Linked DNA regions of Homo sapiens: all the other regions are linked to region 1. Evidence: promoter capture Hi-C in human tissues and cell types (Jung and others, 2019). All regions are on one chromosome and are shown on one strand. The core of a region is centred on a gene start or on the middle of the fragment in contact, and the rest is flanking DNA. Distances in the headings are between cores, read along the strand shown. Region 1 holds the start of CNGB3 (cyclic nucleotide gated channel subunit beta 3). Region 2 overlaps LOC105375630 (a long non-coding RNA gene). Region 3 overlaps MMP16 (matrix metallopeptidase 16). Region 4 overlaps MMP16 (matrix metallopeptidase 16).

What was found. The method cuts DNA at HindIII sites, captures the fragments that hold promoters and counts their contacts. A contact is called where the count stands out against the background at its distance.
Region 2: a contact is called between a fragment that was not itself captured here and the fragment with the promoter of CNGB3 in region 1, in 1 of the 25 tissues and cell types used here (dorsolateral prefrontal cortex).
Region 3: a fragment that was not itself captured here is called in contact with the fragment with the promoter of CNGB3 in region 1 in 1 of the 25 tissues and cell types used here (spleen).
Region 4: a fragment that was not itself captured here is called in contact with the fragment with the promoter of CNGB3 in region 1 in 1 of the 25 tissues and cell types used here (dorsolateral prefrontal cortex).

What each region holds. Positions count from the first base shown.
Region 1 is chr8:86,740,419-86,747,929 of GRCh38, reverse strand. It overlaps CNGB3 (cyclic nucleotide gated channel subunit beta 3), which reads left to right and starts at 4,296. Exons shown (of 18, transcript NM_019098.5): 1 at 4,296-4,431. The coding sequence starts at 4,303. The HindIII fragment of the contact is 5,975 bases long and covers 2,703-7,511 here.
Region 2 is chr8:88,338,456-88,345,966 of GRCh38, reverse strand. All of the region lies in intron 2 of LOC105375630 (a long non-coding RNA gene), which reads right to left. Among named protein-coding and RNA genes, the nearest start is that of MMP16, 15 kb to the right of the region's middle. The HindIII fragment of the contact is 5,276 bases long and covers 57-5,332 here.
Region 3 is chr8:88,319,430-88,326,940 of GRCh38, reverse strand. All of the region lies in intron 1 of MMP16 (matrix metallopeptidase 16), which reads left to right. Among named protein-coding and RNA genes, the nearest start is that of MMP16, 4.3 kb to the left of the region's middle. The HindIII fragment of the contact is 4,597 bases long and covers 1,481-6,077 here.
Region 4 is chr8:88,255,493-88,263,003 of GRCh38, reverse strand. The region is part of intron 1 of MMP16 (matrix metallopeptidase 16); the gene reads left to right. Among named protein-coding and RNA genes, the nearest start is that of MMP16, 68 kb to the left of the region's middle. The HindIII fragment of the contact is 5,154 bases long and covers 2,384-7,511 here.

The DNA.
Region 1 (7,511 bases), core at 3,047-5,546:
ACACAATTTGTTTTATTCAATTGATTGGCAAATATTTGTTGAGAATTTAACTTACAGCAGGGAATTTTTGTCTGTCATCTTATTCCTTGGCTTGTGTAATCTAGCCTGTTATTCCAGCTTCCATTTTGTAGATGAGCACCTAAACCTTGTTCGCAGGTAACCAGACATTGCTAGTAACTTTTTTCTCTAAAGTCTTATAATTTTTTTTAAAAAAGCTCATAATTTACTCACCTGTTTTCCTGCCTTATTAAGTATATTCAGCGTAGTTAATTTTTCAGAACTTGGTCAGTGTTCAGGTTTGTTACCAGGTTATTATCTTCTCCTAAAAATACACAGCCCTGAACCTGAGATGGGGGAAAACTTCTGGGAGTTTCCCTTCAATTACTGTTTTAGGTTATCTACTGTAAACCAGCTATTCCCTTTATACTCGGTGGTTGCTCTTCTCTTATTGAAATAATATTCAGACTACTTGAACTTAATTCAGAAAGATCTTGGAAAATTGCCTAAATGTTTCTTTCTAGTAGACATAGGGGAAAATATAACCTTAGTTGGTTTTATAACCTTAATTTGTTTCCAATAATTTGCCAAAAACAAACAAGTCTTCAACCCTTGACCCCGTCCAGAAGCAGAGGAGACTGTGATTTGAGAATTACCAGAAGAAAGTCCTCCTCGTTCAAAATTGCCCCCAGTGGGAATGTCTGAAATTCCATCATTAAAGATTCCCTCAAAGAAAGATAGCATTTCCCAAACCTGACTCCTATTAAGTGAAAACTTTATTACAGATCCTATTTGAATAATTCATAAGAATAATACTTAAATATGTTCCAACCTGAAACTAGATATAATCTTCATTTGCTTATAATTTTTATAGAACCATAAAGCTAAAACTTGTTTGAAAATTTAACATAAAACTTAAAAATCAATAAGATTAAAACAATGCTGTCTGTAAGATGGCTAATGCTCTGCTGAAAATAAAATTACTAGTCACAACAAGAATATGGAACTGTTTGCTAATGATGATAATCTTTTTGTTTTAGCATAGCTTTATTACCATCTGATTTGTATTTTACGTGTTATATTCCTATGTGCCATCTGTATACCATCTACGGTATCTAAGACACCATTTGTTTTAAAACATACCATTATTTTATGCATGCTTCTCTCAGCCTATCCCAACTTCAGCCTGCAATGGCTACTAATAAAAAACAATGAGGCTACAACATTTGCATTCTTCCAGGGAGATTTTTTCCACTTCTCTTACACACTGCATCTACCACAGAGAATCTCTTCACTGTTAATCTAGAACTAAGAGATGGTCTATACCATCTTCTTCCTGTTATTTATTCAACAAACATTCATGGAGTACCTAGAATATGTCAAGCACTGAGCTGGGCACAGGAATCTGAAGGTGGCCAAAGCATAGTCTCTGCCTGCAGGAGCTTATGCTCTAATAGAGAAAATAGACCTGGACATGGCTGTAAAATGAGAAGTGACAAAGTAGAGATCTCTGTATGGCACAGATACAATTGCAACAAAAAGACAGGATTATAGGTATAGCTGTCCATGGTAGAAGAGAGGAACGGTAGGAGAAGGAAACACCAAGCTTAAGCTAGATAGACAAGAAGTGGAACAGCGTTGCAGGCAGGGGAACAGTACACATGAGCAAAGACATGGGTACAGGCAAGAAAAAGCAGAGAAGTTCAAGCTATTTTAAATTACTGATTATGGCAAGAGCCAAAAGAGAGGTCGGGGTTACAGATTAAACTAGAGTTAGGCAAAGGTCAATGATATAAGGCCGGGAATGTCCTGGTAAGGAGTTTATACATTTATGCTGTAGAGAAGGAGGAGTGGCTGAGGGGCTTCAGTTAGACAAACAGTCCGTTATATTGAAGAAAAATTGTTTTTATTCCCATTGTCATACACTACCTCAGCAATATGGCAACTTGGTACAAAAAAATTAAATTGTTATTGGTGAAATTCTAGTAAGCCATTTCACCCAGAATAAGCAACCCTCCTTCTTCCCTTATCTTCTTGCTGATTAGAAGAGCTCCTCTGTGGAAGACCACAAATCACAGAATTTAAAACCAGAAGAAAACAAACATTGTTTTTTCCCAACCTAGTTATTTCCAGGTTAAGGCAAGAGATTTACTTTAGTCCACAGAGCTACTAAAGTGAAAAAGAATGATCCAAAATTCATGTCCTTCATTCCAGAATTCTTTCTAGTTGTCCATTTTCCAAACTTTGAGACCTCTGATCTAGACAAAATAAAAGTAGTCATTTATAATTTTAATGCCCATGTTAATGCCACTCTATTGTCAAAAATCAGGTTGTTGGAGGTATTTTAAATCATTTTAAAGGTGCTTGAATTATTTAATAATATCTCCATCCCATTTATTCTGACCTGTGACAAATCTAAAGGGTTAAATTGTCAAAACAGACTAGCCAGAATCACAGATCTTACATAGCACCAAACTTTATTAATGATTCGTTGGCTACAAGCCGCCATCAGGAATAAACAAAACATTCATTTTGGGAAAAACCCCAAACTGTCAGACACAGCATCCAAACAAAACAGACCATTTTTCTCCTGCAGTTGGCATATTTTGGTTTTGCATTTACAAGTAATTTTTGAGCATTGTCTGCAAAAACATTTCTCACAAAAAGAAGGCAGTTTGGTTTGGGGACATCTTCGTTCCACATTCTCTTACAGAGCTTACATAGCACCTCTCTCTCCATTCTCCAGCCAGCCTGCTAAATTCCAGGCTTATTTACAATAAGCAATCTAGACAGACCAGAAATGTCCTGCTAAAAAAGTTTCATAAATAGGGACTCCCTGGTATCTTTCCACTGATAAATACTATGAGATTTATACGAAAGTCTGGTGAGGTCATTTTTTCCTCTGCAGGTCTTAGGAAGGGAAAAAATTAGTCACAGGCTGGCTGTTAACACCTTCCCTTCCTTTGGCTTAGCTTCTATGCTTATACCCAAAGTTCAAAATGTAATCAATTACAGGATTACAGGATTATCTGAAAAGTTCCTAAAATGGCCCTATACATATTTGATAATCTATTCAGAATTATTTCTGAAGCAATAATGGAACCAAAACACCCCCCACCATTTTTTAACAAAAATAAATAGCTTTGTGTTTCCAGGCCATATAAGTCAAATCATGTATTCAATTACGTTATTTATTAGGTAAGTTTATTTTTGATAAAATGGTTGAATCTAAAATTAAAACTTCTAATTTATTTTAAAAATCCATAAGGGAACTGCGATTTTGGTAATATGAAATCTAAATTAAAATGCTTTCTTCATAAATACTTAAAGGCTTTTTTCTGTATTAACTGTAATAAACGTATCTTAAAATACATAACTAGTATCTCAAGGAAATTTCCAGATTGCAAAAATACAGAGGGCAAGAAGTATTTGATGGGTTGACTTAGGCTGCCCTGGGTGTGGGTGTGTACCTTGTTGCATAAAGGCTTTGGTTTTAATTTGAAACTGCAGAAGATAAGTGCTCTCATTAAAAACAAAAACAAAAACAGAACCCCTTTAAAAAAAATCATGCGTCTTTGGTGCACTAAAAAATCTCATCCAACAGCATAGAACATCAACTTTGTCTGGGCTCCGGGCAAAGGGGAAAAAAAAGTTCTCTTTAACAAATCTTAGTCTTGTATCTTTGCCTCACACAGGTTTGGGGTCAAAAGTGACACACACACACACAGAGGCAGAGTAGAATAAGCAGATTTTTTTTTGTTTAGCCATGTGGAAATCAACCACCAGAAGAACAGAAAAAGAAAGCTTAAAAATAGTGGCCTAACATTGCAGGACCAGAGAAGGGGATTTTGAGGAGTGAATGAGTTGCTTCATATCATAAGCCCTCATGGATTTTTTTTAATCATTTCCATATTACTTTGCATAAAGTTAGACAGATAAAGATAAGTAGGTGGGTAATTAGAAGGAAAAAAAAAGAAAGAAAACAATGTGTTGTGTGATCACATTTAAACCATTCAAATCAACTATGAAGCTGTGTTTAATCCTCTACTTCTAAATTATTCACAAGATCATTTTGACTCCCTAAAGTTCATAAACAGAGTGCAAATCACCCAAGCAGAAGTATTTTGCTGCTTTTAAGCCAAAGCCCTGACTAGCTAAGGAGTTGCCTGTAGGAATTAACCAGAACAAAATCCTGATTAAACAGCTAATTGGCTTGTCTACTAAAGAAAAGGAAAACAAAGTACATTTCTCTACCTTAAGGCACAGTCATAAATACAGAGGGTTTTCAGAACCACCTCAGAGAAGATGTTTAAATCGCTGACAAAAGTCAACAAGGTGAAGCCTATAGGAGAGAACAATGAGAATGAACAAAGTTCTCGTCGGAATGAAGAAGGCTCTCACCCAAGTAATCAGTCTCAGCAAACCACAGCACAGGTATGTCCTCTACATTCCTATGCAAGCCTTGATTTTCATCATTTCTTATCTGGTAATAGCATTTAATCACTGCTACGATATATGATTGTTTAGTAGTTTTACCTGGCACCATCTGGTACATGTACTGTGTCGGGCTTATCTTCATTAATTTATATATTCTGTATGTATTTGTTCATAAAAAGAATAATAAATGTTTAGGAGACTATACTAGGATTTGGAAAAGCCAAGTAAGACTTCTCATTGCTGATTTTCACTTCTACCATCATCCAAAATGAAACCATTTCTCAAATATTAAATTGGTTACTTGATTGAGTTTCAACAAAGAACATCAAGTATCCTGGTCTTCATAAACCACATGTTAACAATAAATCTCTAGAGCAATAGGAAACCTATTGGCTCTCAATTGAGAGCGATTTTACCACTCAAGGGACATTTGGCAAATCTGGGGACACTTTCAGTTGTCATAGCTCCGGGGTGGGGATGTTACTGGCATCCAGTGGGTAAAGTCTGCAGATGCTGCTCAACATCCTATCATGTACAGGACAGCCCTCCACAACGTAGAATTATACACTACAAAATTTTAATACTGCCAAGGTGGAGGAACTTTAAACAAGCCTTTTCACAAGTTCTAAATATATTTTTCTGCAAAATGTATATGATAATTTCTGCTTTGTTATGAGAACTAGAGACAGTAATATATAAAGCACATGGTAGGTACTTTACAAGTGGCTATTATTATTATTAATAAGAATTTGTGTTTCTGTGACAGGTTTAAGTCCTAAGTGATCATTACAAGAGCAATATTTACTTAGAACTATCCACAGAATAATTTTCGTGAATTACTCACTAGAATTATCTAAAAGAGCTACAGAAGATTTTTAGAGCAGTAGTTATTTTGCCATCTGAAACAGCTGGATGAGAGATGACAAGTACAAGCAGGAGTGCTCCTCAGGGACTAGGGGAGCATAGTCCAATGGTTCGGGTTTAAATGAGCCTAGAGGATAGACAACACTGAGACTATTTAACATGGGCCGTGGAAAATCTGCCTTCCTTTTCTGATTAATGTTGACTGCTTTGCAGTAGAGAGGAGATGAGGAGGACTGTGTTAGTATTGCTTCGAGAGAGTGCCCTTGACTTCTTTCTAATTCTTATGTCAAAATAAATAATCCCACACTAAGTTATCTATATGTTTAAGAACTCATACAATGTCACAAATATTGAGCTGGTACTTTCCTTCAGCTAGTCTTGCTGTGTTTTGCTCTGGGAAAGTCACTACATCCATCTTTAACCCTTGCCTACTGTGATTATTTTCCAAGGGAGCACATAAAAACCGTTAATAGCTAATATATTATTCTCTTGGAGAACATTGTAACTAACAGCAATTACTATTTGCCAAGCAAGGTGCTAAGCCCTTTTCTAGGGCTACTGTATTTAATCCTCACAACAGTCACAGGTCCTATTACAATTTGCTCCTTACACATAGCTAGCAAATGGCAGAGCCTGGATTGGAACCAAGTCCTATCTGAATTCAGCACCTGAGAGCTAAATCACTAGGCTATACTGCTCAAAACAGGAGGGATATTAGTTGAGTCAACCCTTTAAGATACTTTGCCTGCAGGATAAACGGAAATTAGAGAGAAGGCGAAAAAAGAAGAGAAACTTCTTAAAGAGTTATCTTTCCTTTCAAAACAGGAATATTGGAGAAGTACTTAGATTAGGCACAGGTAGAGCACCCCTTAGGTATATCCCATGCCATTCCAACAGCCATAATTTGTGGATATTAATCGCGAAGTCTACTGGCATCACATTAGATTTTTTTTTTTTGTTTTTTTTGAGACAGAGTCTCATTCTGTCGCCCAGGCTGGAGTGCAGTGGTGCAATCTTGACTCGCTGCAACCTCTGTGTCCTGGGTTCAAACGATTCTCCTGCCTCAGCCTCCCGAGTAGCTGGGATTACAGGCACATGCCACCACACCCAGCTCATTTTTTTGTATTTTTAGTAGAGACGGGGTTTCACCATGTTGGCCAGGCTGGTCTCAAACTCTCGGCCTCAGGTGTTCCGCCCACCTTGTCCTTGCAAAGTGTTGGGATTACACGCATGAGCCACTGTGCTCAGCCACATTATATCTTAAAAGTCATATTTGGGCAATTATTTGCATCTGTTCTTTCCAAGAACATGTGGGTATGGGAAAAAATAGTTTATCTCCAATTTCAAATATGCTAAATGTTAAAAATGACAGAAAGTTAAAATCCTGTTTTCTTTCACGGAATTCGACCTTTCAAAATGGCATTTAAACAATAAGCCTCTGAACTATGAATAAATGATTAGAGTCTTATAAGCAAATATCTAGGAATAAATATATCAATGTATGTTGTGTTTTTTAAAGAGTCATTTAAAGAGCTCATTTACACACCAAAATGTCATGGGTAATTCTCACCTATCAATAAACAATAATTTAAGAACTGCAAATCAGTCTAATCCAAACTCTCTCTTACCCCAGAAGAAGACACTCTTCACATAAATCTACATTTGTATACACATAAAGACTATGATATAAATATTTATGAATAACATCATAACGATGCAAAAGGACTTGATTGAAGTCAGAAGGCTTTTTCACTGTTTATAAATAGTCCTGGACTTATACCTTTCTAGCTACGTTCATATAAACTAGCCACTCAATCAATTTCATATTCAATAATATAATAATATTAATAATAATAGCTGCCTTGCCTAATGTATATGGTTATTGTGAGGCTTAAGTGAAAATCAGCCAATTAATTTATTTTTTAGTTTAAAATGCTTCTATGAAACACAAGGCTTATAAATAATGTCAAAACTCTATAGCAGGCACACAAGACTCTCAGTGTCCTTCTGGTCCCTGCCTACTCTCAAGCCTCATCTACTCACCCTTTGTCCCATCCAACCACTCCTACTGTAGTCTCTCCCCACCTATGTACAGTCACGCCTTTGGCTTTTGCTAAACCTGCATCATCTGCCTGGAATATTTTCTAAGTCCTCTCCATGTGGAAAACAAAAATCTTATCTTTATAAAGTCAAGAGTCACTTTCTTTGGAATA
Region 2 (7,511 bases), core at 1,445-3,944, 1.6 Mb before region 1:
CTCAGTAAACTATCGCAAGAACAAAAAACCAAACACCGCATATTCTCACTCATAGGTGGGAATTGAACAATGAGATCACATGGACACAGGAAGGGGAATATCACACTCTGGGGACTGTGGTGGGGTCGGGGGAGGGGGGAGGGATAGCATTGGGAGATATACCTAATGCTAGATGACACGTTAGTGGGTGCAGCACACCAGCATGGCACATGTATACATATGTAACTAACCTGCACAATGTGCACATGTACCCTAAAACTTAGAGTATAATAAAAAAAAAAAAAATTTAAAAAAAAAATTAAAAAAAAAAAAGAAAAAAATAAAAAATAAAAAATAAATGTGATTCATCACCTAAACAGAACCAAAGACAAAAATCACATGATTATCTCAATAGGTGCAGAAAAAGCCTTCGATAAAATTCAACATCCTCTCATGTTAAAAACTCTCAGTAAACTAGGTATTGAAGGAACATACCTTGAAATAACAAGAGCTATTTGATAAACCCACAGCCAATATCATACTGAATGGGCAAAAGCTGGAAGTATTCCCCTTGAGAATCGGCACAAGACAAGGATGCCCTCTCACAACACTATTATTCAACATAGTATTGGAAGTTTTGGCCAGGGACATCAAGAAGAGAAAGAAATAAAAAGCATCCAAATAGGAAGAGAGGAAGTCAAATTATCTTTGTTTGCAGATTACATGATCCTATATCTAGAAAACCCCATTGTCTCAGCCCAAAAGCTTCCTAAGCTGATATGAAACATCTGCAAAGTCTCAGGATACAATGTGCAAAAAATTGCTAGCATTCCTATACACCAAGAACAGACAAGCTGAGAGCCAAATTATGAATGAACTCCCATTCACAACTGCCACAAAAAGAATAAAATATCTAGTAATATAGCTAACAAGGGAAGGGAAGTGAAGGACCTCTTCAAGGAGAACTATAAACCACTGCTCTAAGAAATCAGAGAGGACAAAAACAAATGGGAAAAAAAATTCCATGTTCATGAATAGAAAGGATCAATATCACGAAAATAACCATGCGACCCAAAGTAATTTTCAGTTTCAATGCTATTCCCATTAAACTATCATTGATATGCTTCACAAAATTAGAAAAAAAAATTTTAAATTAATATTAAACAAAAAAAAGCCAGAATAGCCAAGACAATCCTAAGAACAAAGCTGAGACATCACACTCCCTGACTTCAAACTATATGACAAAGGTACAATAATCAAAACAGCATGGTATTGGTACAAAAACAAACACATAGACCAATGGAACAGAATAGAGAACTTGGGGCTGGGTGCAGTGGCTCATGCCTATAATCCCGGCACTTTGGGAGGCCGAGGTGGGAGTATCAGTTGAGTTCAGGAGTTTGAGACCAGCCTGGCCAACACGGTGAAACCCCATCTCTACTAAAAATACAAAAAATAGCCAGACCTGGTGGTGCATGCCTATAGTCCCAGCTACTTGGGAGGCTGAGGTAGCAGAGTCACTCGAACCCTGGAGGCAGAGATTGCAGTGAGCTGAGATCACAACACTGCACTCCAGCCTGGGCAACAGAGTGACTCTGTCCCCACTCCCAAAAGAAGAAAGAATAGAGAATTCAGAAATAAGACCGCATACCTACATCCACCTGATCTTTGACAAACCTGACAAAAACAAACAATGGGGAAAGGATTTCCTGTTTAATAAATGGTGCTGGGAGAACTGGTTAGCTATATGCAGAACACTGGAACTGGACCCCTTCCTTACACCTTACACAAAAATTAACTCAAGATGGACTAAAGACTTAAATGTAAAACCCAAAACTATAAAAACCCTAGAAGAAAATCTAGGCAATACTATTCAGGACATGGGCACAGGCAAAGATTTCATGATAAAAATGCCAAAAGCAGTCACAACAAAAGCAAAAATTGATAAATGGGACCTAATTACACCAAAGAGCTTCTACACAGCAAAAGAAACTATCATTAAAGTGAATAGACAACCTACAGAATGGGAGAAAAGTTTTTCAATTAATCCTTCTGACAAAGATGTAATATCCAGATTCTATAAGGAACTTAAACAAATTTACAAGAAAAAAACAAACAACACCATTAAAAAGTAGGCAAAGGGCATGAACAGATAATTCTCAAAAGACAACATACATGCGGCCAACAAACATATGAAAAAAAGCTCAATATCACTGATCATTAGAGAAATGCAAATCAAAACTACAATGTGATACCATCTCATGCCAGTCAGAATGATTATTATTAAAAAAATTAAAAAAAAACAGATGCTGGCAAGGTTACAGAGAAAAAGGGATGCTTTTACACTGTTGGTGGGAGTATAAATTAATTCAACCATTGTGGAAGACAGTGTGGCAATTCTTCAAAGATCTAAAGGCAGAAATACCATCTGATCCATAAATCCCATTCCTGGGTATAAACCCAAAGTAATTTAAGTCTTTCTATTATAAAGATACATGCATGCGTATGTTCACTGCAGCACTATTTACAATAGCAAAGACATGGAATCAACCCCAATGCTCATTAGTCATAGACTGGATAAAGAAAATGTGGTACATATACACTGTGGAATACTATGCAGCTATAATAAATTGAGATCATGTCGTTTGCAGGGACATGGATGGAGTGGGAAGCCATTACCCTCAGCAAACTAATGCTGAAACAGAAAACCAAACACCGCATGTTCTTACATATAAGTGGGAGCTGAACAATAAGAACATATGGACACATGTGGAGGGGAACAACACACACTGGGGCCTGTCAAGGGGGGTGGTGGGGGGAGTGAGAGCATAAGGAAGAACAGCTAATGGATCCTGGACTTAATACCTAGGTGATGGGATGATCTGTGCAGCAAACCACCATGGAACACATTTACTTATGTAACAAACCTGCACATCCTGCACATGTACCCCTGAACTTAAAATAAAAGTTGAAGTAAAAAAATAGAAAAATATTTTTAATATTAAATTTAGTGTAGCCTCAGTGTACAGTGTTTACAGTAGTGTAGAGCAATGTCCAGGCCTTCACGTTCATTCACTACTAACTGACACATCCAGAGCAACTTTGTCCTGCAAGCTCCATTCAGGGTAAGTGTCCTATACAGGTCTACCATTTTTTTTTGTCTTTTATATTGCATTTTTACAGTACCTTTTCTATGTTTAGATATGATTAGAAACATAAATACTTACCATTATGTTATAATTGCCTATGGTATTCAGTACAGTAACATGCTGTACAGGTTTGTATCCTAGGAACAATAGGCTATACCATACAGCCCAGATGTACAGTAGGCTATACCATCTAGGTTTGTGTAAGTGCACTCTATGATATTCAAACAATAATGAAAATGAAATGCATTTATCAGAATGCATCCGTCATTAAGTGACACATGACTATATTTTGATTTAGAAAATGACATAAAAGAATTCCATGATGGTTGAAGAGTTGGCATAAGTAATCTCTTTACACATTTTCATGTAGTCCACATTCCCAAATCTTTTGATCTATAGTGTCCAAATGTAACATACAAATTATTTAATGGAAAAAAGTAATTAAGCGAGAGTCAAGAGAGGGGCTGGGCTAACTTTGAGCAATTCTCTTAAACTCTTTTGGATTAACTTCCTGGGTTATAAAATAAGGTGACTGGAAATATACTTCTCTTTGTAAGCTGTATTTTGGATTAAGGAGGGTGTGAGCAAGTTTGATTGTCTGCAGAACTGGGCCATTAAGAGCTAGTTCATAGGGGACTGGTATTAGTACAGTACTTGTTAGGAACTAAACAGTTGATTAATGTCTGTTTCCATGATCCTTACATAGAAAATTACAAGAGAGACAATTTTTCAATTGGGCCATTAATTGTCACCATGCCATGCTGTGTATGTCTCAATAACAAGTCACTTAGAGAGTGGTGTGCTGTTTTCCAGTGTCTTTCGAGCCAAAGTTCCAAGATGTCTTGGGTAAGAAAATTAGCCATCATGATTTCTAGACTTATTGATCATACCTCCTAATAATTAACAATACAGGAAGGAAGTACAGTTGGTTGGTAGAAAGCAAATAAAATGTAAAAGTATTGAAATAAATGATAGAAGAAAGTTTATTGAAATAATAACAGCCCCTGAAGTTTAGCAGATTAAGCCAGTACAATACATACTACGGAAATGAACAAAAAACCCTCCAAATTAAACAGAATTAAATAATTTAAACTAAATAATTACTGATTATTTAAACAAAATTAAATAATCACATGACCAGCGCCAGAAATCTCCAAGGACTTTCATTATTTGACAGAAATGGTGACCTATGAATTTTATACTAACTCAACTTGTTACCTGAGAGTTCAAAAGCAGGGAATAGGTTTTAAAATGCAAGAGAACCAAGGAATATGAGACCCATACTCCATAATAAAATCCAGAACATAAAACAAACAAAAATTGTATGTCTTACAGGCACTGGATTTGTTTTCATAAATATCAGTCTTTCATTCTGTCATTCTTTAAACAAAGATTTAGCTTTCTTTTCTGAATCAGGCATTATGCTGGGTGTTGGTGATAAAATAGCAAACAGTTCAGAGGAAGTACCTGTTGTCATGAAGCTTATATTTTCTCCACTGCAAAGGTAGTGGTGGAAATAAAGCGATAATTTACCATAATGGTAAACAACTAAAAAGAAAATAAAACATGGCAACTGGAATCATAGTGACTGACAATAAATATAGGGTTGGGAGGTCTTTTATATAAATAGTTAGAAAAGCATTTTGTAAGTAGGTGACCAGTGTGCCAAGGATACTTACTAATTACAGCATTAGTACATGTTCAAGTGGTCAAGAATTCATCAATATTTTATACATTCTGCTTTCAATTCCTGCTGAACTCTTCTGGGAATAAACTACTCAGAATTCTACAGTTCCATGGGTTTTTATTTCTCAGCACTTAGAGTTAACCTTCCTTTCATTTTTATTTGTCACATGACTCTTTCCTAAGTATTTTCATATACTGCGTTTTTGTCTTTTCAATTAGAATGAGAACACAATAAGGATATTTTCTCACCTTTTCACCTGTTGGATTTTGACATACTTAATATGGTTTTGTTCCCCATGAATAATCTACCATGCAAGTCACATATCTCCACTGCATTATGGTTTAACTCTTCTCTACCATAGTGACTCTTCCTCCTGAGCAAATAAACTGTTGGTAGACATAAAAATATTAGGTAAAATAAACATGTAACTTTGGTGTAAGTTTGGTGTCACTTTGGTGTAATGGGGTGAGTCCTGATTTTACTCCTTTACTAGCTGTGGTGACTTTAGGCAAATTACTTATCTTCCCTCATATCACTGAAATTTGCATATTTTCAGCAAGACTGATTTTCATTATTGTGATTACCTGAACCAAAAATGGTTTTGCCAGGACTTTCTTAATTTCTATTCTTTGCATGCCACAGAGTTGAGTTGGCCAAATGATAATGTGGCTTTCAGTGGAGTGGCACCCTTATACTATTGTCAGTTCTTGAGAATGAAAGACAAACCCACTCCATTATATTTCTACAATGGCAGAATTTATTTAAGTCACTGGATCTCCTGCTCTATTAAGACCTCCACTCCTATTGTCATTACCTTGGCTCTTTGTAACTAACTCTCTTTTGTCTCTTTCCCATCATTTCTCTTTTGTTCTTTTTGCTTTCTCATTCTCTCTTAAACGGTTCTCAGGTTTTGTGCAATTGATTGCTGATATGAGTGTTGCTTTTCACTTGGTGTGAGTACAGCAATTTCGGAGCATCAGGCTCAATCCTTCTTACTCTGAGTTTGGCTATTTTCACAGTTGCTATTAATAGATGTTCGCAAGTCATGTTTATGGAGCCAGAGTAGTTTGTTATTTTCTTCTCTTTTTCTTCCTTCCCTGTTTACATTCTTTACCTCCCTGTCTGCCTGTAATTCGGACGGTATCTCATTCTTTAGCCTTAACAAGTATAAAGTTTGACTTCCAGATAACTGAGGTGATGCTATATTTATCTATCCATCTATCTATAGCTCAGAAAAAAGCTTTAACCTCTTGTATATTTACATGCTAAAGAGATTTGCCATATAAAATACAGGATGCCTAGATAAATTTAAATTTGAGATAAATAATGGATAAATCTTTAGTGTATATTCCAAATATTGCAAAAGATATACTACAAATTATTTGTTGTTTATCTGAAACTCAAATTTAACTGTGAATCCTGTATTTTCATTTGCAAAATCTGGCAACCCTTAAGCACTTTTTGTAGGCCATACAAACATGTTTTTCAATTAAGCAATATTAACAATGATTGTATAATTTTAAATATTAAACCTATGTCAATGGTCCAATAAGATGATGTGAACAACACTTACTATGATTAGAAACTGCCAAATTTAATGTGACAAAATGTTTCACTAATATATATTATACTTAAATAACTATTTTCATTTTTATAATAATAGAGTATTATATAGTATTATTTCTTTTAATATAACCAATCTCTAATTCATTTTACTGAAATAAAAACAGACATTTGTTTATAAATATATAAAAAGCCAACATATATCAGCCAATAAACAAACTTATTCTAAAATTCTTGAAAATTGTATTGATTCACTTGAGCAACTGATAACACTGAAGCAAAACTAAATACAACAAGTTTGTAATGAGAACCAGATGCTGAATTTGAAGCAATTGAATGGGTAATGAACAACAAATCATGATATTGTACTCTTTCCAGAAAAGTAGTACTTATCATAGAACATTTTCACATATATTAACAGAAAAAGCTATTTTTACATAGAAGTTCATCTTTAAGCTATATCATTCATACATAAGAACTGTTTATTATGTGTTGTTGCACCTACCCAAAATACACACACACACACACACACACACACACATACAGCACTGACTGGCTGAAAGGCATTCTTTTCCTCAGTCATACACATTATAATGACCCCTAATGCAGAAGCCAGGCAAATATTACACATACACAGACACACCTAGATGCACACACATAGAGGAGCTTTTAATCAAGAAGTTTCATGCGCGAATAAAAACTTACCTTACTATTATATCAATCCATGTGTTTCTCTGAATTTAAATCAGGGTAACCTAAAAATTTGCTGTCATTTACTTAGTACGGTAAAGATATTGAAACTTACCAAGCTAATGGAAAAAGTTTTAGGTTAAATTATATTTATACCTAGCTTGATATTTTAAATTCTGACTTTCTAGGGAGACAGATATTGATGATAACTTTTGAGTTAGCATCGATTTAGATATTCACAGAGTTTGAGAACTTTCAAATACTTTAGAATTTATCTGATTCAAAGTTTTCATTTCATAAATACAATATATAGAGCATAGAACAATTGACAGGCTTGCTTAAAGTCAATCAGCTACTTACTGATGGAGCCAAAGGTAAGAAACAGTCTCCAGACTACTGTCTTAGTGCAATTTCCAATATTCATTAATATCTCTTTACTGAAA
Region 3 (7,511 bases), core at 2,530-5,029, 1.6 Mb before region 1:
CCTGGTTCAGTTTAAGGGTGTTTTAGGTGACGGATGCGTGTGAGACCCAGAATCCGTTATCCCCGGCAGCACAAAGCACGATGCTGCGCGCTCAAAGACACAATTGTAGCCGGTCCATGCTTTTCACCCAGGGAAGAGAAGTCCTACATATAGCAACCGTGTAGCTAAATAAGGCAGCTTGAGTTTATGATGGATAAACAGCTCGGGGAAGACAGAATTAATTCCCTGGCATCATGTGCTGCCTAGGTATTGTTCCTGAAATCTTTCTCCCAGTGTTTGGTGCCTAACAAAGGAGGTTAAAAATCAAAGAATCTAGAGGAGAGCGTGGGAACACTAGATGTGTTTAATAACATTACTTTGTGATAAAACACTTGAGAATCTTTTTTTTTTTCATTTAGACATAACTTAATACACTGTAACTAGATCTGGCTACACAGAGGACATGAAATCCATCTCTTTTTAAGTGTCTTCTTTCCCCCTCCCCCGCCAATTGAAAATAAACGTGGCCCAATGTAATAGTTTTGAGGTGTGTTTTTAATTTGATTTCACACTCTCGTGGCAAAACGGGGAGGTTTTAGACTGTCATTTGCTTTACTTTGATAGCTTTGGGAACAGACGGCACAAAGCAAAAGGGAACTTAAGGATAGGGACTTGTCAGACCTCTGCCAAAGTACTCTTCCTGTCATCAAGTCAGCACTGAAGCCAGTAATGTGCAATAAATCAATGAAAGCGTGTATACACCTGGGCTGTAACACAACTTTATCACATATACGGTGGGATACAAAGCCAGTAAGAGGGTCTTAGTAACATTTACTTCTTTTGATTAGATCTGATGTCCTCTGAACTCTCAAACGAATTATGAATAATTTTTTAAGGAATAATGTGATTTTTTTTCTTATATTGTTGATATTATGAAGCTTATTGTCATTTTGCTGGGAGTGTGTGTTTACACAATAGCAAGACCTGTTGCACAGTATTTGAACATGCTTCATGTAACCAATTGATACACAGAGTGTGCATAATAAATGCCATGTGTAAAGGCATATTCTGAATATAACTGTGTTTATAGAAACTGTTCTTAGGACTTCATGTAATAAGTCATGGTTAGTACAAAAAAAGTATTTGAAAAAGTAAGAGCTATTATCAAGAGTTAAAGACCTTCACAGATATTAAGTATGAATAAATTACACAAAAAAAACCCAATTTGAAAACTAAAAAGGTTTAACCCTTTGAAAAATACAACTTTATTTTTCTAGATAAAAAGAGAAAGGGGCTTGAAAGTCCAGACTTTTTTTATTGCAAATTTGAACTTTTGGAATTACGTGCCACAGATGGATTTTTGTACCTAACATTTAAATCAAGAGATAATTTAATGTTGAAATGAAGGATTAGTTCATAGGCTGGAGGAATTAAAGTGGCAAGCTGTTATTTATAATGTTATAAACAGAAGGGCCTATTGCTTCAGGTTGGTGGTGATGGTGGTGAGGTGGAGTGTGTGGGAGGTGGTAAAAGTAAGTGCAAGGTTGTGTCTTTCTGAATAAGGGAAGGGAAGGACAGCCTGGATTGATGGTTACCTGCTTTAGGAAAGTATTAGATTTGCTTTCAGAGGTTAGGATAACATGAGTTTTGATGATTATTAGATTTTTTGTGAGACTAAACATAAAAGATTGTATTTCTTTATATTGGAATCCCTCAGTAAGTTCAGATATTATTATGCAAAAAAGTTATGATTGTACTAACAAATTTTATTTAATTTTGGATTCCAATGACCCCTTCTCTTTCTTCATTAAGATGTGTGGGGAAAAATGGTTTATGGAGAAAATAGTTATTTTCCCATTTTTAGAGGATTTAAATTATTCTAGTCATATTTATTACACAGATTTAAGCCTGACAGATAAGTCATGTGCCATCTCAGACCTTTAAAATCTTGCTTAATAAAATGGGAAGTTTTTCATGGTTTAGAGCAGATTATATGCCTTAGTTTATGTTATCCTCAAATAGTATTTTTAAGCTCTTGAGCTCATTTTGGTTGGATTTATAAGCTTCTTTATGTGTAATGATACCCCCCCTTTTTTTTAGATTGTAGGAGTAGCTGCTAGTGAAATGGAAATATTGTCAAGAACACAGAATGACGGGATGTTTTCTGACATAAATTTCTGCCTGATTCACTTCTATTTGACTTTTTTTTGATAGGAAACACTAATGGGAAGAATGGTCCATCACTTCCTCTCCAGAAGAGGCACTTACATTGTGTTCCTCATTCTGGTTGCAAAACATACACACTGGGAATGTTTTATTTGATTGATTCTCAAGGATAGTCTTAAAATAAACAGTAATGATATCAGTCATGCATGAAGCTCATATGATCATAAAATTTTTTTTCAGTAAGCACAGAAAGTTTTTATAGTTGGAACAAAGCTTCAGGGGGATGCTTTTTATGCTGACAACTAAGATTACATTGCTTTATTCATCACTAAACTTAACAATTTGTGGTCCCCCCATTCTTTTTTATCTCTGTGATTTAAGGTTTAAGACTGTATATTTTTCCCAGGGAAGTGGGGGATTTGAAGAGGGTGGTTGGCTAGAGGTATTCATGTTAACTCTTTCCTGTCTGATTTTTAAGGGTATAAATATTTGGAGTTGTCAATTATCGAAGTGAGAGATATTTTTAATATGGTGATGAAATCCTGTTACAGAAAGAGAGTGCATTTGGTTTTGCTTGGTTAGCTTGTTTTTTAAGAAGCAAAAAGGAACATCTCTTACAGCTAAGAAAGGGTCAGACACTACCAGGAGTAGTACTATGGAAGAGATTCAATACACTGCTCTACTTTCATTTCAAGTGGAACACTTTTATTGTTAAGTTTTCAGTATATACTCACTTAGGTAAAGATATCCATATATCATTGGATCCCTTTTTTAAGAGTTGGTCTTTCAGTATGTGATAATTAGCACGATGCAAGGGAACATTGCTAATATTAACTAAAAGTCAAAAACTGTTGTCATTGGACAGCAGTCTGAATCAGAGGTGTTCATTGGTCAGAAGCAGCTAAATTATTAACAAATAATTATTAATGTCTACTGTCTTAAAAATCATTTTGTTCCTAAAATAGCTATCTCATATAGGGATTTTCATGATCCTGTGGCTTTTTTTTTTGGTATGCTGTGAGCATTTTTGTTATGAAATTTGAGACAGAACATAGTTCATGATAGTAATACCTCTCATATCGTCAACTCTGAATAGTTTGTCAGATATTACTTATGTGAACAGCATATTCCTTATCAATTTCTAAACAATAGCATACATTTCCAGGGAGGAAAAAATTTTCAAGCTGATTTAGTGGTAAAATAAAAACATATAAAATTCTAAATGATGCATATATCAAAGCATAAAATGATTACTCTTTTGTGACAAAAAAAGTCTTGATAAGGCAAAAATTGATTTTGTTGTTCCTGATTAAAGAAAGCAGAGATATTTTAGATTTCAAAGGGGTCTTTTATGACAAATATGAATTGAGTATAACTATTTCCTAAATTTTTCTTGCAATATATTTACTTAACTGATTTAAGATTTATTCAAACCTTTGTCAGGTTTGCCTGCATGTACCTAAAAAGTCAGAGTTTGCATTGGGTACTTTTGTATTGCATATAAATTTGGTAATAATTAATCATGAGACATTTCAGAGATAAAAATTATATTTTATAGAATTTTACATTCTTATGTTGGGACACTGTTGCTTTTCTCTTGTTCTTTGCTTGCTTAAAAAATCAAGATGCATTATTTCATTTGGACATGGAAGAATGGTGGTACCATGCCTTCTTGAGTAAAGGTTGTCTCCTGAATATAGCCTATAATTCTCCACTGTAGCAGTTTCTAACTGGTCAACAACAGGGGCTGTATGACTGATTCATCAAGATTTTTATGTACCGCAAGATTGCAGGTTTAACAAAACGTCTCAAATATGCTGGCTGTTTAGGGTGCTCATAAGGGCCCAAAGCTATGATAAGGAGAACAAGAGTCTCAATTGTTTTAAGGTTCTCTAGCTTCTCCTACATGTTCTACCTTGACTATGCCTCTCTGTTCAGAGTTGCCTGGGCCGGATCACTCAGGTCTATGGTTATTCATGAAACCATTACATGACGTGATCATAGCTCACTACAGCCTCAACCTCCTGGGCTCAAGCAATCCTCCCACCTTAGCCTCCTGAGTAGCTGGCACTACAGGCACATACCACCATACCCAGCTTTTTCTTTTTTCTTTTTTTTTTTTTAATTTTCATTGAGACAAGATCTCACTATGTTGTCCAGGCTGGTCTCAAACTCCTGAGCTCAAGTGATTCTCCCTCCTTGACCTCCCAAAGTGCTGGGATTACAGACATGAGCCACCACATCTAGCCACATGTCATTATTATTAATAGAAAATAAAGGTCGATAAGGAAGTAATTGGCACCATAGCATCTAATGACATAAACATCTATCAGGTTAGGACATATCAATTGGTATAGGAAGATTTTATTTAAACACCTTTCCATTTATTAAAAATATAATGTACTGAAAATCAACCAAGCTAACATCAGTACATTTTCTTCCCGTAGGTTTTTCTTAGACAGTTTAGTTCAAGAATGTGATTTTCACATTTTGTCATGTCATCTGTTACTATCATAGAATATCAAGTTCAGCTCACACCTTCTTTTACAACATCACGTTCGCTGAAATCTGTTCATCTTTTCTAATGCCATAGAAAATAAATAGGCCTTTATAATTCAGTAGGCCTTTTTATTTTAATTGGATCAAACCCCAAGTGCTTCCTTTTCATAATATGGGTAGGATTCAATAAGAAACTTAAGCCAGCTCTGTTATACCTCAGATTCTGAACAACAACAAAAAAGTTTTTCAAAAATTATGTATAGGGAGGGATAAGAATTGACTGAAAAAGAAATTAAAGTGTTTTCTACAATAGTAAAAAATAGTGAAAAACATATCGTGTCCATATAACATTGGGAATGGCAAGATAGCTAGCAATGTGGTGTAATTGAGCACTGGGGGAGAAGTTGAAGGAAGTGGGCTTTAACTCAGGTTCTTTTGCTAACCTGGCTTTGAACTTGGACATGTAACTTATTTGATATCTCATCTGCAACAATGAGATGTGAACTAAACTGTCACTAAGGCCATTTCCAAATTTGAAATTTTATAGTCGTAAGCCTAGAAGCTTTAGTTTATGTAGCCAAAGGGGATGGGAAATGCAATATTGACCCTGTAAATTTGGTAACTACTGAATCACAAAGGTAGATAGTTCAGATTTTTTTTCTGAAATAAATGTCATGAGGAAATACAGAATGTGTAACTTAAATCTAACATGTGTTATCATCTGTAGTTCCAAAGGATGTTCCATTTTGGAAATCATCGTAGCCTTCTGCTGAGTAGTAAATACATTGGCAGCAAATGATACGTAATTTTAAAATCTAGTTTTGGCCAAGGTAGCAAACCTTAAAAATTAATTTAAAAAATATAATTTAGTGCCATTTTGAGAAACAAATATCATCTACAAGTGGTAATTCAATCATAAAAAGGCAAGTTGGAATAAGTTCAAAATCTTAAGTTTTAACAGTTTTTGGGAGGGAGTGTCTCAAAATTTAAATCTGTCTCTCTGTATATGTATACAAATATACACATATTTTGTAGTGAAATTAAGTGCTTATACTGTATTCTCCATTTGCCCATTGTGGGAAATAATTTGGGCATGTGTTCTTTGAGGATTTTTTTGTTCTTCACCACATATTTGATTTTGAATATGAAAAATCAGATTGCATTTATTTTATAAAATATGTAGTTTATGTGAACAATAAAAAATTCCATACTAAAAGGACAGAATGCTAAGTAATGATATATGGGACATTCACATTTTCTTTTGCCTTATTTTTCTTTTACTTGGGGAAGTTATTTATAGATTTTGAGGTTCTTCATGAAACCATATTTGATTGTTGTTTCCTGTCATTTAGCACTCTGAATTGATATTTTTTGCTTGGTGTTTCACCACAACTGTTTGGCATTGTGCATCCTTAGTTTTGGATAGTGGCATAGCTTGATGAGCCACATGACAGAAGCTGAGCCGAGAGAGTAAGTGTAGCCCCTAACCTTTGATTAAATGTGACCTCTTGGTGTAGTATATAAAAAGAGGCTAGAGGGAGCTATTGAGCTGCTTAAAGACTCCAATGGCTTGGAAGAACTTGGTTTAAAATCAAGGACAGATACTAGGTGCAATCAGATGTTGCAAAATGAATCATAGCCAATTGTAGATTTTGAAGAAATCAATGAACACAGTTCACGATTTAAGATGTAACCTGGTTTACTGAGGGCCTCTTGGCACCAGTGATTACATATTTGATGAACTAAGAAGGAAATTAGCACTTTAGGGAAAAATGTTCTGGGCATGGCAGTATAACAAAGAATATTATAATGCAGGAATGCTTTACATTTCTCTTATTTTTAGGTGTGTAATAGGTCAAAAACTATACATTGTAGTGACTAGGTGTTTTTGGTGTTCCTGTTTTAACTAAAATAACTAATGAAATAATTGTGGTTTTATAGATTAGAGGTGGAATAAATTTAATTTGATAATGCCTTTTAGATTATGTGTAGCAAAAATCCAATTTTAAAAGCTCACGAGACTAAAGTGATTTTAATTTCTAATGTTTACCATGAGTCCTTATTGAATAAATACTTTTCAATGAAAGCAGAGTTTAAAATCCAGTTTCTACCTATTCTTCCTTTTAAAAATATGTAAAAAACGATCCACAAAAGTGTGAAACAGTGTGGTTTCTTTAAATAGGAGCCTAAGAAATGTTTTTAGTTGAGCAGATTATTATTTGACCTCTGGTAGAGGTTGGGGGATAACAAAGGCACTTGCTAATGCATTAGGGCATGCCAGCATTTAATTAAAATATTATAAGCTTCTCATAAGCATCACTAAGTTTTTTGTAAGTTTTTTAATCTAGTCACTTAAGTGAGATATGGATTATTGAAGTAAGTCATGGACCCTGAGAACAGATAAATGTTCTCAAGAGAGATAGTCCTTAGAGTGATGTATTCAAATGACCAAAGAAACCCAAATAAACTATTCACTGAAACGGAATCTTATAGTATTTGTTTTAGCCCCGTTTAAGTTAAGGAGGAATAAACTGCCATTTTTTAGGGTAAGCTGGATACTTTTATAAACTTCATTTCATGTCCCTAAATTGCTTGCACCTGATGTGATGTCAATGGAATGTAGACATGTGCCTCTGCATGCGGCTGATGGAGTCAGACCCCGAATGATGTCAGTGGGGGCATTTTTCCGTGGGAACTTTTCACAGTTGAATTCCTACCATGTGTTGGTAATTTCTCATTGTTTATAATAATTAGAAATTTGTTTTTATTTTAGGTTCTAATGTCTGTGCATTCATTCCTTCTTTACTCTCAACAGTTGCAGTTCCTTTTCTCACGCTCTACTTGCTTCATCTAGTTGGCATCTTAGG
Region 4 (7,511 bases), core at 3,711-6,210, 1.5 Mb before region 1:
CGCCAGGCTGGAGTGCAGTGGCGCGATCTCGGCTCACTGCAAGCTCCACCTCCTGGGTTCACGCCATTCTCCTGCCTCAGCCTCCCGAGTAGCTGGGACTACAGGCACCCGCTACCACGCTCGGCTAATTTTTTTTTTTTTTTTTTTTTTTTTTTTTGTATTTTTAGTAGAGACGGGGTTTCACCATGTTAGCCAGGATGGCTACGATCTCCTGACCTTGTGATTCACCCGCCTCGGCCTCCCAAAGTGCTGGGATTACAGGCTTGAGCCACCGCACCCAGCCTGAATTCAAAAACTTTAACTTACTCCAAAATTGCCAATTACTTGAAAAGAAGGTTTTAAAAGTAAAGAAAGTTTATGATGCTTGCAAAGCCCAAAGAAACAGAAATCTAGAAAAGAGACAGCCAACAGCCTATATAACTACCACTATATTGACAAAAGCCAGCAAAGCTGAACATGCAGATTCTCAGTAGTAAGCAATACTGCTAGCGAGGAGCCTCAAGTGTGTACTTGCTGCCTAATGGGTGCATAAACAGTAAAACAAAAGTGAGTAGTTTAACCTCCGTTTCTGATGAAGTTCCGGAAAAATACTTTAGAGTTTTATAAAATGTATTCTTGGTAGACAAGTCCATCAACATGCCAAGCTCTTGGAAAATCTTGAGAATCAAATCAAATACAAACACAGCCTGCAAAAAGGAAATATTTAAAAAATTCATATCTTTTCTTGCTTTAGTAAAATGTGCACTATGCCACGTTTGATAAAATTTCCTGTGCCCACACTTTTCCTGTAATAATAATACATCTCACTGCTGCACATAGTCTGGAGTATGTTTTATAATTTTGTTTGTTTTTGTTTTTGGTGAGAATGGAGCTGTGGCTTGGATTATTGACTAAGGTTCAAATATCACTTTATTACCAGACATTGAAACACCCATGTTTTGGCCCTGTGCTAGGCACTGGAATGTAGAACTAGAGAGATCATAGTCCTTTGCCTTAATGAGCTCATAGTCTTTAGACCTTACTTAACATTCTACCTAAGTAACCTTGGCCAGAGTACTTTCTGAGTCTTTAGTTATTTATAACCTCATGGGGTTGCTCTGAAGATTAAATATTAATAATATAATATGTGAATCATGCTAAGTGCAGTGCCCAGTGCATAGGATACACTCAGTAAATGTTATCCTCTTCCATCAGTAAATGGTTATATGGTTGTGTGTGTGTGTGTGTGTGTACATGTACATATATGTATGCATATGTATATGTGTATAGATATGTATGTGCATATGTGTACATATGTATATGTATATAACATACCTAATGGGAAGTGCTTTGAGTTGCTTCTCTGGTCTTAAGTATGATGATGATACGCAGTCTCCATTTCCTGGTATCTTTTTTTGCCCAGTGGTTTATAGAGTCTGAAGGGGAGGAGTTTTAATTGAGTGACTGGGTGGAAAATATATGCTAAATAGTGAGGTAGAAAGAGAAACATCGATTATACTATTAAGTATGGTAGTAAAAATATGAACGCTAGGGTGGGATTTTAGGGGATTGCAGTTTAGAATTATAATGCTATTATAAATTGTTGGATTATTTTTTTCCCCCTCATAAAACTGATGCACTGATTATACAGTAACATATTTTTCTGGGCTTGATAATACAACTATCCATGTGATATTTTTGAATCCAAGATAGGCATGTTTGTCTCCTAAATGTTTTATAATCTCAATAAATGAAATAACCAGAATCAGTACAGATCTAACCCACTGTGCGTAACTACCTACTCTTGGATCCTTGTAAAATGATTGTTTATAGTGGTGTTCTTGAGACCAGAGGGAATGATTAAATTAGAATCAGTATGTCTGCATGATAAAGCTAGGAAATTTATAATATATTTGAGGCATATCTTCAAGACAAAGTGTTAAATAACTTCAGTATTTCAAAATGCAATGTATTCCCTTGCTTTTGGCAGGCTGCCTGAAATGAGCTGCCATGGTGTTTGAGTACAAGATACTTGTTAAAGTGCATTTGTTATCTGAGGTCACTAATGTAAAAATTTGCAAATTAATATATTAGAAGCCATGTATAACTTAAAACAGTAATGCTTATCCAATGGAAACAATTTACTTCTCTAAAGTATTTATAGATTGAAGTCTGGTGGTCAATGGTTAAAGGATTTGTTAACTGGGAAACATAACACAATTCATTAATCAAACATGAGGATATTTTAGTCATTTAGCTATGTTTATACTTCATATATTTTTTCTAATTTTTAATCTATATTGTAATTGTTCAGGTTCATCTGAATGTTATCAGTTGAAATGTTGAGTTTTTTTCCCTAATAATTTTGGTTAGTTGGCTTTTTTCTTGGTAGAAGTAGAAGAGATCATTTCTTTGAATTTTATTTGTAAACTGATAAAGTCATTTAGGATTTTAGACTATGGAGAGATAATATCCTGTTTTTATTGGTAACATGAATGCTCAGTTAGGGCTCTACAAAGTGGAAATAAAATATCAGTAGATACTTATTTTGGCAGCCTATTCAGAGAGTTTCAATAATTGACTCCAGAAATCCGAAAAAAAATAAACTTTTAAGTGAAAAAAGTAGCATAATTTGAAGTCTTAAGTAGCAAGGAAAATAAGTGTTTTTTGCCTTATGTTTTAATTTCTTTCTTTGATTTTGTAAAAAACAAAACAAAAATAAAAACAAAAAAAACATGTATTCCTTAAATATGAGTGTTTTGTGAAGGAACTGTTTCATAGGAATGACAATACAGTTAAAAATATACTCAAATTTTTTTGTGCGAAGCAGTTGAACCATATTATAGAAATATTTTTAAAATGCTGGAAGAAGAAGTATAGTTTTTATCACTTCATGTCTTCTTACTGGTATATTTCTTTCCAATAATATCACCATGGGCTTGTTTTTTCTAATTCCTCATATTGTGCATTTTTTGAATATGTAGCTTTTCACCTCATTTGGTCAACTAAGTTAAACCAGTGCTTTCTACCTTTACCTAGTACAAATAAGTAAAATTTGGGGGGTTTAGGAAGCAACAATTAAGCTACCTATTGGATTCTGACTTATTCACACCAGTTTACCAGACTGAACGCTTAGGGAATCCATCTTCAAGTCAGATTCTTTCCATTCTCATTGACATTGATGCGTGAGGCAGGGTGCTCAGTAGTAGCTGGAGCTGAGTGATGGGACCAACATGTATCATAAGCATTTGTACCTTTTCCTAAAATAATCTTCAAAATAACCAGTATTTTTTATGTCCGCATAGTATTTAATGGAATCAGTGTTCCGTTGTTAACATAGTTATAGTCCTAATGGTTGGGAATCCCTTCCCCTTCCCTTTCCTCTTCCCTTTCTCTTTCTCTTTCCTTTCTTTTTTTTATTTTTATTTTTATTTTTTTGCTTGGCTATTAAACATAAGGATAAGGTGGATCCTTCTGTACATATCACATTTCCCACACGTTTAAATTATTTGTCTAGGATTGATTCTCCAAAGTACTGTTGCTATTTTAGGTTGTGATAGATGTCACCCAATTGCTTCATAGTAGGGTTGTGTAGTTACATAAATGCCTTAAATAACACACACAGTGCACCCTCACCAGTGTATGAACATTGTCATTTTGTTCTAATACTCTAGTGAGCTTTGCTTTAATCATCATAATATACTCTCTTTGAGACATTTCCGTTGAAAATGCATCCAATTTCCTGACTTTAGCCTATCTTTTTCTAAAGTTGTGACTTTGGCATGATAGAAAGTATCTAGATAGTTACATGTATACTATATATAGGTAGCATCCATATATAGGTAGCTATTGCTCTCCAAAAATCTTACCTCTGGAGTTACACAGACGTGGGTTCAAATGACAGTTCAGTTACAGGACAAGGCCCTTAATCCACTTGTGCCAGCATCTTCATTTTCTTCATCTGTAATGTGGAGGTGATGTATGGTGAAAGGAGGAAAGGAAAGGAAGGCAGGCAGGAGGCATGCTTCCTTGTGAAGCTACCACATTAGGTTCTTGGGATTTTTATGGTGATTTCAAAATTATTATGTTGTTGTAAATGGAAGATGAAACCTCTGAATCATGGCTATGCAACTTAAGATATGTTAAATAGAACTCAACCAAATATTTTGACTTAATTTCAGTGATAGTTCTCTTTTTCTTTCTGCAGTATTCCAACTTTATACTGTGTCTTCTCTGTAAAAGAAATGACAACATTTCTAAGTTATTGAGATAGGCGAACAATAGCAACATGATTCATTTTGCCTAGGTCAGAAATGAAAATGTAGTTTTCTGAGTCGTAAGCTCTCCGTCTTCCCTCTTATTGTAAACCATTATTTAACATTTAACATTTACAGTGCATCAGGCAGTGTGGCTATCACATAAAACATTTTTGCTTAAAAGGCCTACTTTGTTCATATGAGGTTTTATTTGGTCTTGCTTTTTTTAGTGATTTTGTTTTAGACAAAAGGCAACTAACATAGTAGGGGATATTTAGGGGAGAATGAGGGCTTAGGCAGGGAGTGATTTCTTAGGTCAGGGAGAGACCTGATATGGCATTAGACAGGCATTAGTATGCCTTACAGCCGACTCACTGGAAACTCACTCTGGTAACTTATTCATAGTTTTGGAAATTGAAAGCCTATTTTAGCCACTGATCTTAAGTATAGGCTCCTGAGTGCAGAACTAGGTGCATTTTAATCATCTTTCTTCTTGAAGGCTGGCAAGAAAAGGAAATTTTATTAACACAGCAGAGGTGTTAGCACAGGCACCCTGGACAAAGCAATCAGGAGGGAAAAGAAGATGTGAAGCAAGTCCTGTTCAAAAGAAGAGTCATTTGACGTGAACCCGGGAGGCAGAGCTTGCAGTGAGCAGAGATCGTGCCACTGCACTCCAGCCTGGGTGACAGAGCGAGACTCTGTCTCAAAGAAAAAAAAAAAAAAAGAAAAAGAGTCATTGCATTTTGACTTTTCTAGCTTCAGCCAGTGAAGCTAGATGCCCTTCCTGTGTTATGACTATTCCTTACCATTAGCCTACCCTTCTGTTCCTAGAAAGCATTTTTTATTTCAGAGTTGAAAAGTAACTTAACTGACCAACTGACCTTACTATTGCCTTCCCTTTAACTGTAAAGTAAATGTTGCAAATACTTACAGTATTGTTTCTTTTTGTATCACCTTTAATAGGATAGTGAGGTCTAGTATAACCCATAAGGTAAGTGCTCTGTTCATGTTTATAAAATGAAATACTAGGATATTTGTTCATTTAGTCAGATTAACAAATATTTGTTCAATGCATAGTGTTTATACTCCATGCTTATAATGCATTGGTGAACAAAAGGAGCTTTTATTCTACCAGAATTCATGGCAATAAATTATAAATAATATTAAACTGAGCTTTCTTTTCAATGATATTAAGCCCCATAAATGGTAGGTCCCTTAGAGGGCATTAATCTATCTAGAAAAGTTGAATATTTGCTAGGAGAATGGCATATGCCAGCAAAAGGCAAAAGTAATTGTAAACTAGATTTGACTTTTCATTTGTTTGTAGCTTTGTTTCCACAGAAGCTACATTTTTTGCACATACTTCAAACATCAGCATAGGTATGACCTCTAGTAAATGATCCCAACTGCTGGAAGGTTACTCCTTTCTCTACTCTACTCTACCTTGTACAGGTTCTAAAGTGCATTGTCCATATGTATTTACTATTATGTATACACAGGTAACATGCTAAGACATTCTGAGCCCTGTAAGAGCAAGGACTGTCTCAACATGTTTGTTGAATGGATGTAGGTCCTTAAGGTTAAATATAAACCCGACTTGCTATGAGTAGACTCAGTATAGATCAAGTGAAATAACAATATGTTCAGCCTTATGAAGTGTTCAAAGAACAACTGTTAAAAGGATGCAAAGTGACAACTAGTTATAAAATTTAAGAGAATGAAATTACTGAATTTAAAACACTAGAGGCTGAGAAAAGACATTATTGTATGGAGAGCAGGGGTCATGCTTACTGAGGATAAAACAAATGAAATTTGACAGAATTATAATGAATCTACAGTTATGCATTTTGAAAACTTGAACATTATATTCAGAATTGCTTAAATAGGCTCTGAAATAAAAGAAATAAAATAACATTTGGCTATGATGACCTCACAAAAGCTTCTAGCAAGGAAAACCTGATCATAAAATGTGGACATTTGTATTGCTGCTAGGAGGGTTATAAACCAGGGACCCTCTGAGTTATAAGTGTGTACTGTAGTTCCCCTGATGGATGGTGTGTGTGGGGTGTGTGTGTGTGTGTGTGAGAGAGAGAGAGAGAGAGAGATGGGGTGATTATGGAAGGATATAGTGAGAAGGGAGAAGGGAAGATAGCAAGATGGTGACAAAATAAATATGCATCCTTCAGTAGTTTGTCTTTCTTCTCAGAAAAAGTCGGTTTGATTCAAAAATAAGTTTATTGAATTCTGAATGTCTTGGGCTTTTCTTCTGAGATGGGAAAGAGATCAGTATTTTACACTAGACAACACTTTATTTAAAAGAGAAAACCAAGCAGTAGGTGACATAACCACATATTTGGATCATTTAAGATTGGAGGTTGTTGTGTGAAGTCGATTTGACCATTCAGTTTTTGATTTCAGAAAGAGAGAACATTAGCCCATTTGCCTGTTTAACTGAAAAGATTGATTCTTATTAGACACATGCTAATCGTAAATTAATAAAATTATTTTTACAAATACAAACCTAATCTATTACTCCTGTCTTTGATAAAGAAAACAATGGAATTAAAAAAAATAAGTATTTAGAACATTACAGGTTATAAACTTGGCTTAGAATGTATTTAACTATTGAAGATAGAATTAGTGAAAGAAGAATAAATGGGTTAAAAATACTGCCTAGAAAAAAAGCTGAAAATAGGAGATGAGCTGTTTTAATAAGATCAGGGACACCAGGTGCAGACATATTACAAAAATAAGCTGGGACAACCTTGAGATTCAACCAAGAGAAGAGATAAGAATGACCTCTGGATAAATGAAAAGATAACAGTAGGAGAAAATGAATCCAGCATCTATAGAAAAGTTCCCTAAAGCCATGACTGCAGAAATTGGGATCTAAATGATTGAATTCCACCACTTTCAAAAAAGGCCTGCCCAAGCCATGTGCCTTAGTGGGGGAAAAATCAGACCCTTGCTCAGCAGTTCGTCAGTGTGGAAGTCTGATATGTTTCATGCACCTATATAAAATCCCTAACAATCAGCCCTTAACTTCCTGCCCATCCTTCGGCAGAGTAAAACATACTGTTTTTAACTAAGATGGAAATTTAAAGTCCTTATTTACAATGAATGTGCAATAAAGAGGCAACGGTTTTACTGGAGGAAAGCTTTGCTTTTAGATTTGAAAATCCTATTATGATCCAAATTCATCCTTTGTGATCTAGACAGATCACTGGATCTATAAGAAGCTCTGTTTTCTCAACTGTAAATTAAGGTAATACCAAT